Linked DNA regions of Homo sapiens: region 2 is linked to region 1. Evidence: promoter capture Hi-C in human tissues and cell types (Jung and others, 2019). All regions are on one chromosome and are shown on one strand. Each heading gives the region's core, a stretch centred on a gene start or on the middle of the fragment in contact. The rest is flanking DNA. Distances are from core to core; before and after follow the strand shown. Region 1 holds the start of SPACA7 (sperm acrosome associated 7). Region 2 has its middle 140 kb from the start of TEX29.

The links. The method cuts DNA at HindIII sites, captures the fragments that hold promoters and counts their contacts. A contact is called where the count stands out against the background at its distance.
Region 2: a contact is called between a fragment that was not itself captured here and the fragment with the promoter of SPACA7 in region 1, in 1 of the 25 tissues and cell types used here (dorsolateral prefrontal cortex).

What each region holds. Positions count from the first base shown.
Region 1 is chr13:112,374,284-112,379,769 of GRCh38, reverse strand. It overlaps SPACA7 (sperm acrosome associated 7), which reads right to left and starts at 3,415. Exons shown (of 7, transcript NM_145248.5): 1 at 3,291-3,415. The coding sequence starts at 3,384. It overlaps LOC105370373 (a long non-coding RNA gene), which reads left to right and starts at 3,492. Exons shown (of 3, transcript XR_944295.3): 1 at 3,492-3,646. It overlaps LOC105370372 (a long non-coding RNA gene), which reads left to right. Exons shown (of 5, transcript XR_944294.2): 4 at 705-763; 5 at 904-1,032. RefSeq lists an enhancer at 764-1,963. The HindIII fragment of the contact is 14,702 bases long and covers 822-5,486 here.
Region 2 is chr13:111,453,311-111,458,418 of GRCh38, reverse strand. No RefSeq gene overlaps it. Among named protein-coding and RNA genes, the nearest start is that of TEX29, 140 kb to the right of the region's middle. The HindIII fragment of the contact is 4,337 bases long and covers 205-4,541 here.

The DNA.
Region 1 (5,486 bases), core at 2,166-4,665:
TTGAGATTTCCCAGAGGGCCACTAGAAAATCTCAAAGGATTTGTTCTCTCACTTGGTGAAAAGAAAGATGTTAAACTAATTAGCTTTATTTGATACATTAAATTCGTAAAAAGCATTGTCAAATAAGGGATGTTTAACCTTCTTTATATTTGTATGCATATATGTTATAAGTGTTTCAGAAATTGTATTAAATTCCTAGAAATTTTCACTGTCCTTACTGTCCATGATATGTCCTGGTATAAAGTTATGAGTCCTAATTTCCGTTATTGTCTTGTAATGTTGTATGTCACAGAAACAACCAAATTTCCTTGTCAATTGCAGCATAATGAACTCTCATCAGATTTTTAACCATGGCCATTTTATGCATTTTATGTCTTTTGTCATTCAAGACAATTATTGTTTTACTCTGATGCTTTTTTGAAAGCTTTTGCAATCAGCTACAGTCCAAAAATTCTTTGTCTTCAAGGAGATTTTTAGGTAAGACTCTGCCAAGTACTCTGGAGTAAGGTTTCTGACGCCTCTAAGATTGCACTATTAGACTGGACTTTTCCAGAACTCAGGGAGACATTGACGGATTTGTAAACCTGCTAACCCAAGATCAAGTAGAACAAGAATTAATGATGTGGGACTCAATGTGGGGACGATTATAATTTTTCTGAATTTTCTTGGAAATGTTTCTGGTTTTTTAATGTTTTGTTTTCCAGATTTAAAGAACTCTCTGCTTCCGGTTTCTCTTAGGCTACGCATAACGGACAACAATTTGGTAATTACACTTTCATAAACAAAAATGAAGCATTTATATTTTTTGTCCCACCTGATTACTCTAGAATTTGGATATTATGATTTTCAGGACCATACAATTGTTTGCGTAAGTTTAATAAAAATTGATTCTCCTTGCAACAGGACACGATTGGAAACATTGGTCATATTACCAAGGCTTTGACTGGAATGTCATATTTGAGATTGATACATAGAATCAGAGGTGACCAGACAGTTTTTAAAAACTGAGGTTGATTTGATGGAGCTGGAGAAACTGACCTGCTACCTGGCTCACCGGGTCCCCATCCCACAGGTGAGTGAAGAAGGTCATTTGCTGGCAGATCCAGGAACTTTGGGAACCTCGAGACCTTCGGAAGAGAGAAATTCACCCAAGTCTTTAGGTACCACATGTGAAGTCTGATGGTGAGTTTTTGGCTGGGCTTCCTAGCCTCAAAAAGCTTTTAAAAAATCTAATCTGAGATTCCTTGTAAAAAGCTCCAGCAGAGAAAACTCAGTTTATGTGGTCCATTACCATTCTTGCTGCACTTATGTAAATAATCAGACCAAATCTTGTAAGATGTGATATATTTTTGAGACAAGAATAGCATTACTTTGGTTATCTTGATCAAAAAAAGAGGGTGACCATAGAGCCATATTTTATGTTTTAATGAAAAATGGTAGCACACCCTTGTGAGTTATAACCCTGTGTATTCTACTTTTTTTTATCTTTTGATAAACTCCACCTTACTTTCTACTTTGTTATCTACCTGTAAACTGGACTGGATCCTGAAGCCTTTTAGAGTCCTTCAATGTTCCCAGGCTAACATTTCCAGTCTTTCTTCTGCCCTCCTGACTGGGTGTTAGTGAGAACTAAAGCCTGACAACTCAGGCCTTCCGTGGGACCATCTGGAAAGGCTGAAGCTGGACACATCCACGCTCTGCCCCCAGCATAACCATGACTGTGGCTCTGATGGTCATGATGTCACCAAGGACACACCCCCTGCAAACTAGGAAATCCATCCTTGCCCCATCGGCTGAAGATACCTTGAGCCCAAAATCCAGAAATCTTCTCAACAGACTGCCCTCTGGATTCGGAAACTGTGTTTCCAACTATAAATCTTTGTTTTTCTTCTCTTTTTCGTAGACATTCCCCTCATTAAATTCCCGACTACTTGTACCATCCAGCACACATCCTCCACCAGATGAAACATGGACTTATCTTGTTCAAAGAGAAAAGGAATGTCTCTTCTTTCTTGAACAAGAGGAGGGAATGAGAAAGCCTCGCTCCTTGACTTACCTCATGCCAGGCTCCTCTGAGTCTTCTCTTTGACTAGGCCTTGACCCTAGCTTCTGCTTTTGTCTGCTTTTCCCCATGTTTAGTAGGAATCCTGTGAAGTCTTTTAGTGGAAATCCCCTAGTCTTGGCCTGGTCACCCTTGATATCTGATCAAATTCCTCACCCTCCATCTTTGATTATTTTATTGCCTTGGCTTCCTTTCAGGTCTGGCCTCCTGTTTGGCCGAACACAATATACACAATAATTGAACTAGAGGGTGAATACATGGAGGTTCATGATATTCTTCCAAGTTAGAAATTTTCCATAATAAAAAGTTAAAATAAGTAACATATGCAACTCTCTCATGGATGTCTAGATTTTAAAAGGTCTTCAAAGATAGCAGACCTTTGTGTCCTGTTGCAAGGATAATCAATTTTTATTAAACTTATGCAAACAATTGTATGGTCCTGAAAATCATAATATCCAAATTCTAGAGTAATCAGGTGGGACAAAAAATATAAATGCTTCATTTTTGTTTATAAAAGCCCTCTTGGCCTTTGCTGAATCAGTTTAGCAAAGAATTCTCCTACCTTTTAGCAATGTTCATCCACTGACCCACCCTGATCCTTGGCTGCAAATCTCCACTTTCCCTGTATTTGGAGTTGAGCCCACTCTCCACTATTATGAGACACCATGGTAGTAGCCCCCTTTGAATAAAGGCTGCCTGCCCATCTTTAGCAAGCATCACAAATATTTTTTAACGGTATGAGCTGAGATAAAGGCTTTTGGTAATTATGTTAGTCTGATTATGACATTGTAGATAATGCTTTTATCTCTTCGCAAGAAAATGTTTTACATGAGGTGGTAAGGCATCTGGGATGGTGCTAAAATACTCCCCAAACAAGAAAAGTGTGTGTATGTGGTGTGGAGTGTGTATGTGTGTGTGTGTAGAAAAAAACAAAATATGCACAATAATTGAACCTGAGGGTGAATACACGAAGGTTCATGATATTCTTCCCAGTTAGAAATTTTCCATAATAAAAAGTTAAAATAAGTAACATTTGCAACTTTCCTATGGACATCTAGATTTTAAAAAGTCTTCAAAGATAGAAAGACTTTTCAGCTACATTCATTCCCCAAGGAATAAATGGTAAATTCATGTAGGTTGGGAATAAGAGGAACCCATGGGAGAAGAGGCCGCCGCTCCCCACCTGGTTCAGTTCTCTTTCTGCTGAGACATCCCTGTGGGGCCCTACCTGGAATCACGGTTCTCGGCCGGAGCTCAGTTTCTTGCCAACAGCACAGCAGGAGGACAAAGCAGAGGGTCCCGTCTCCTTGGCTCACTGCCATGCTCCCTCCAGCTGAGGGAGAAGGACGTTCTGAAGGTTGACAGTTTCCCATCCTTGGTCTCCAGGACACTGTGGAATGTCAGGACCTGTGACATCACAACCAGGAAGGGAGCTGGGGTCCTGCCCTGGTGGGGAGGTCATGTCCAGGGACCTGTGACATCAGGACCAGGAAGGGAGCTGGCATCTTGCCAGGGGCGGGGGGCAGGGTTTCTGTCCAGAGTCTGTGACTGGGAAGCAGGGAGGAGGCTCACTGGGGTCTTAAGGTAACAGAGATCCTCTCCACTCTTTCTTATTGCCTGTTCTGGTGACTTCCTCTGTCCTGAGCACCCTGAGGACTCAAGGGGTAGATACTAATCAGGACTTAAGGGCCAGTGGCCAAAAGCCAACAAAATCTGCTCCCATGGAAAGAGGCGTATTTGAAGGATGCTGGAGAGGTGGTTGAATTACAGAGCAAGTGCCAGAACCGACAGATCCAGAGGGTCTAATCACCTCTTAAAGGTCCCTTGAAGAACAGAGCCTTGAAGAACAGAGGCCCGTGGCCCCATGTCCCCTCCCACCCTCCCCCACCCTCAAAGTTCCAGGATCATGAAGAACAGGAGACAGATGACCCAGGTTTCAGCCTCCTTTCCCCCACACCTTCTTTCTCAGCATCAGCCCCAATCTTTCCCTGGCAGTGAGACTTTAATCACGAGAGGAGAACATGGCTGCATTTCCATGTTATCATCCTCCCAGCTCTATCTCCTAGACTTTCTAGAGCTTTCTCCATCCGTGCAGTGACAAAACCCCAAAGGAGTCACTCTGGTTGGCTCCCCTGGATCCTATCTCACCCCTGGACTGACTCCTACATCCAGGGCTCAGAGTGGGGCAGCTGGTCTAGACTCGGCCGGTGGTGGGGTCCCAGGTGAACAGCCCTCAGATCCCAGCTCCATGGTGGAGAGGGCTGGTGTGTTTGTCTGTTCCCACACTGCTATATAGAACTTCCCTGAGACTGGGTAATTTATAAAGAAAAGAGATTTAATTGACTCACAGTTCTGCATGGCTGGGGAGGCCTCAGGAAACTTACAATCATGACGGAAGGGGAAGCAGGCACCTTCTTCACAAGGCGGCAGGAGAGAGAGTACATGAAGGAGGAGCTGTTAAACACTTATAAAACCATCAGCTCTAGTGAGAACTCACTTATCATGAGAACAGCATGCAGGAATCCACTCCCATGATCAGATCGCCTCCCACCAAGTCCCTCCCTCAACACGTGGGATTATGAGGATTATAATTCAAGATGATGCTTGGGTGAGGACACAGAGCCAAACCATATCACTGGGGCCCTGGACGCACAAGACTAACAATGCCCCCGAGGTCTGGTCAGGACCCCAAGGATGGCTGACCCACCATGGGTCTCTGGCTCTTTAATTTTTATTGCTTGTATGGGAACCCACAGCACATTTTTGCTCAGGTTTTCCTTTTGATAGATGCAGTGGTAGCCAATCTACCTCAAGGTGTGGGGAGTATATTTCAGATTTTCAGCGTGTCCATAAAGGCACACTAAGCATGGTTGACATTTACAGAAACCCAGTGGGTTCCAAGTCCCACTCTGAGTTAATGAATGGTCCAAGTGAGATGCTTGCTTCTATAACCCAGGCTCTTGCTACTCAGAATGTCATTTTGGGGCCAGCAGCATGGGCCTAAGAGGCTGAATGTACAAACGGACAGCAGCCAGAGCTCCCATGACAGCAGAACCCTGCACTGCTGCCTGTCGAACGACACCCACTGCACCAAGGAGGGATGTCTGGCTAAGGCAGGCCAGGGACTTCCACCTCAAGGCGGAGGATGAGGAATTTGATCAGGGCTGGGGGCGAGGCCTCGTTGAGAAGAGGGGTCAGAGGAGCCTCGCTGATTTGGTCGAGGAAGGAGTCATTCTCAAGGCTGCCCGAAGCTCGGTGACTTGATACAGCCCATGTGTGATTGCTTACAACTTTGTGGGTTGGCTCTGGGGGCTGCTGGCCTAGTGTGGCCTCATGGACATGTCTGAGGCCTTAGCTAGGATGCTGGGGCTTGGGATGGCTGAGGCTTCCCTCCATGTGGTCTCTCGGCCTCTAGCAGGCAGCC
Region 2 (5,108 bases), core at 1,124-3,623, 920 kb after region 1:
CTGGAACGTGGGGCAGGAGCCTTCCTCGTGGGAAGGTTGGGTGGGGTGGGACAAGCTCAGGACTGGCTGCTTTCAGTCCTAGTTACTGAGTGATTTCAGTGGGCTCTGGGGAATTGGGGCTGCCCCTAAGTGTCTGGTACCTGTCCTGGAGTGACCGTGGCAGGGGGACAGTGGCCACTGCAGTGTGAGCCATGTGAGTGCCCAGAGGAGGAGATGGTGGGGCGTGGGCTCCAGACTGTGGGTTTGCATGCGATAGGCACGTGCATAGGTGAGGTGATCACTATCAAGGAATTGGCCGACCCTGCAATGGGCCGTCCTTCCAGGCTCAGCAAAGTCAAAGACTCAGAAATAGAGAAAAGAGAAAGACCCGGTTACTGCACCCCAGGCCACACAGCTGGGGAGCAGCAGAGCTTGGGGAGCAGCGGAGCTAGGGCTGCCCGTGCTGTGGGCCCGTGCCTCCGACCCCCAGCGCCCCGCCTCCATCAGGAGATAGCCAGCCCTGGTGCTGCTCCCCTGCATTCTGAGCCATGAGCACCAAAGGACCCCTGAAGGTCACCAATGCCCCATGGACCTTGTCTTGAGAAGTGCCAAAAACATGCAACGGAGGAAAATTCAAAAGCTCCCACTGTGAGTATTTAGATAAGGAATGGCGGTCACTACAGCAGCCAGGGAGTTCCCTGAGAAAGAACAGCATAGCACCCTACCTCCCCGCACACGCTGCATGGAGGCTTTACAATGCCAGACAATCGGGAAAGGGCGGTGAGTGAAGGCACTATTTAGAAGTCGTTAACCCAAGAGACAAGAGTGTAATTAGAATCAGTTTCCATGAATATTAGGAGGGTACACTCAGAGTTAAATTGCTGTCTTCAGTACACATACATAATCCCAAAAACACTAATTCAGGGTCTCTGCAAGTGGTGTAGATGCTGCAAAGAAAAGAATGAGAGGAAGTCTAACAAAAATGTTATGGAATAAGCTCTCCATCTCTCCACTTTCCCTGGAGTTAAGAGCTTCCTGGGAACTCACACAACTGTAGATTTAACTCCATGTATCAGTGGAGAATTGTCCTGATACCGACTTTGACTGATAGCATCTATCTCTGATAAAGGGTGCACTTCAAGGTACAGTCAGCAGTTACACAGAGACAGAGGCAAGAGCCCTTTCTGCCCCATGAAACCAGGGTCACTGGGGGTAGACAAGCGGGACATCAACTGTTGCTTAAATTGTTGACTTTTCATTTGTGAGCTCAGGGGACAATATCCTCTCGTTTATCATTTGGTGGAATCCACGATGCATTTGTAAGTTGCATGCAGTCATTTGCTGCATCCCAGCGCCAGGCTGGTGGAAATGGGGGAATGGCAGCACGTGCCAGACACCCCAGGCCAGCGTCCGGGATGAAGCCTGCTCTCAGGGAGCATGGCTCCCTCCTGTGGGTCCCCCTCACCATATGGCAAAAGCTTCCTGGGCGGCTTCTTCCACACTCGCTGGAGGTTCTGCAAGGGAGGCTTTGCCCACATTGCGGTCACCATTGAAAGAAGGCCTCCAGGCACAAGTCTCATCAAAGGCTTCCATACACAAAGGTCTCCATTTTGCATCCTGTATTCCCCTCTTGAGAGGAAATCAAATTATTTCACCGTTTCTTGCATGTAGGTTCAAAGACTGGTGCCTGACATTCCAGAGCCTCCCTTGGTGCAACTCAGCTTCAGGCACGTGGTACCTCTTGGCACCAAAAATGAAGGAAGCCTCCACAGAAATGGGTGGAAGTGGAGATGTCGCAACACACTTAGGCACGACACTGCTGAGACAGGCACACAGTGACAGCGATAAAGGGAAAGACACCAACATAAAAGAGTGTATATGGCAGTGGCTCACCCAGAGCCCACCAGGAAGGAGGCGGCAAAGAACAGAACTGCCAACAGCCGAACAAGGAGGTGTCGGCCGTGCTGGGTCGTTTCTGTAACTCATTTAACAGCCTTTGCTACGCGTCAGAAACACCTCGGAGGGCCCTCAATAAATGCTTCCTGGATGAAGATGGCCTCCATGCAAAAGCTCAATCATGCAACTACATTTTTAAAACCCAGATGCATTTCAAAAAAATGAAATTTCAACACTGAACTACATGTGCTTCTGGTAATCATGTCTTGTTCCAAATACTGTGAAAGCATTGAAAAGTTTCAGCCTCAAACAAATAGTATTGAATGACCTTTGAGGATCAAAACATGAGTGCCTTTCTGCTCCACCATAATCTGTACAGGAGAAACTACAAGTTTCTGTACTGGATGTACAGTAATCTAAATATTTTGATGGGGTGGGGAAGGAAAGTGAAAGAAAAGTACCCTTTATTGAGTGCACCTGATACATCAGGCCCTGCTCTAGATGCATTAAATACATTGTCTCACTAAGGTTCTGCCTGAGGCATTTCTCTAGCGTTTTTTGGGGGAAATGGAAGAATATATTTTTATTGAAATATAATTGGCATACAATAAATGGCATTTACTTAAATTGTGTGATTTGAGGTTTGACATAAACATATGCCTACGAAACCATCACCACAATCAAGATAGCGAACACGTCCATCAGCCCAAGCTTCCTCATGCTCCTTCATCATCCTTCCCTCTCTCCCTCCCATAGGCCCCTGCCCTACTTTGTCACTGTAGATTAGTTTACATTTTCTAGAATTTTATATAAATGAAAGAATAAAGGATGCATCCTTTTGCCTGACTTTTGCTCAGCATGATTATTCTGAAATTCATCCATGTTGTTGTAAGTATCAATATTTATTCCTTTACATTCCTAAGTAGTATTCTATTGTACATGTATTAGTCTGCTTTGTGTTGCTATAAAGGAATACCTGAGGCTGGGTAATTTATAAAGAAAACAGGTGTAATTGGTTCACAGTACTGCAGGCTGCACAAGCTTGGCACCAGCATCTTCCCGGCTTCTTGAGGAAGTCTTAGGAAGCTTCCAATCATGGCAGAAGGCAAAGAGGGAACAGGTGTGTCACATGGCAAAAGAAGGAGCATGAGAGACGGGGGAGGAGGTGACAGACTCCTTTTAACAGCCAGCTCTCCTGTGAACTAATAGAGTGAGAACTCACTCATTACCATGGGAAGGGCATCAAGCCACTCATAAGTGATCCACAACCATGACCCGAACACTTCCCAGTAGGACCCACCTCCAACATTGAAGATTACATTTCAACATGAGGGGTGCTTGAATTGTTTCACTTTGGGCTATTACAAATACTGAGCATTTGGCTGGGTGTGGTTGCCCACATCTGTAATCCCAGCACTTTGGGAGACCAAGGTGGGTAGATCACCTGAGGACAGGAGTTCAAGACCAGCCTGGTCAACATGGTGAAACCCCCACCTCTACTAAAAATATAAAAATTAACCAGGCGTGGTGGTGGGCACCTGTAATCTCAGCTACTCAGGAGGCTGAGGCAGGAGAATTGCTTGAACCCAGGGGGTAGAAGTTGCAGTGAGCAGAGATCATGCCATTGCACTCCAGCCTGGGTGACAAGAGTGAAACTCCATCACAAAAAAAGAAAAAAAATGCTAAGCATCCATGTACAAGTCTTTGTTTGGACATACAAGGTTTTTTTTGTTGTTGTTGTTTTGTTTTTGAGTAAATACCCATAGGTGGAATGGCAACCTTATGGTAGGTGTATGTCTAACCACTTAGGAAACCACCAGCTCCTCATCTGCATATCTTCTTTAAGAGTCCCTTTGATAGTCTAAATACATGTTCTTTATTAGACACATGGTTTTCTCCTAGTCTGTGCCCTGACTTTTCATTCTCCAAAAAACATCTTTTGAAAAACTGATGATCTTAATTTTTATGAAGCCTAATTTGTCAATTATTTTCTTTTATAATTGTGTTTTTTATAATATGCCTGAGAAATCTTACCTAATCCAAGGTCATAAAGATTTTATCTTGTGTTTACTTCTTGAAGTTTTATAGTTTTAGGTTTTACATTTATAAGTGCAATCTATTTTGAGTTCACCTTTGCTTGTGGTGTGAGGTATGAATTAAAGTTCCCTTTTGTAAATGGATACCCAATTTTTCTGGAATGATTTATTGAAAAGACTATTCTTTCTCTACTCCATTGCCTTTGTATCTTTATCAAAAATCAATTATCCATATATGTGTGATTCTATGTATGTGCTCTCTACTCTCTTCCTTTAATTGTCTGTCTCTCTCTGTACACCAAAATCACATTGTTTTGATCTCCGTAACTTTATAATAAATCATAAAATAGAAAGTGTAAGTCTTTCAAACTTGTTTCTCTTTCTCAAAATTGTTTTGGCTACTTTAGGTCCTTGGCAGTTCCGTATAATTTTCATAAGCATCTCATCAATTTATACCAAAAAAGCCTGCTAGAATTTTAATTGGTATCATGTTGAATCTTCAGATAAATGTGGGGAGAACTGACATCTTAAGACTATTAAATCTTCTGATCCATGAACATGGTATATCTCTACATTTATTTAGAGCTTCTTTAATTTCTCTCAGCAATATTTTATAGTTTGCAGTGAACTTTCTACATATTTTTGTTGGATGTATTTCTAAATAGTTTATATTATTTGCTACTTTCATAAATAGTAGTTTTTGTTTCTATATGTTAGCTTCTAGTACCTAGAAATTTGATATATTTTTACATATTGACCTTATATCTTGCAACCTTGCTAAACTCACTGATTAGTTCCAGTAGCTGTTTTTGAGAATCCCACTGGACTCTGAAAGAAGCCAGACTAAAAGGACCACATACTATATTATTCCACTTTATAAAGCTCTAGAAAATATAAACTAATCTAGAGTATTTGATGGGACAAGGGAATGAGAGAGGAGGTTACAAAATGAAATAAGAAAACTTTTAAGAGTGAGAAATTCGTTTGTTCTTTTCATTGTGTTGATGGTTTCTCATTTCTATACATTTATCAAAACTTATCAAATTATACCCTTTAAAGATGAACAGTTTATTGTGTGTCAATTAAGCCTCAAAAAAGCTGTCTTTTAAAAAAATACTTTTGACAAGTTAGAACTAAACATCTTTTCTGATATTATTGGTCCTAAATAATTTATATCAAAGGTCATAGATTGCAGAT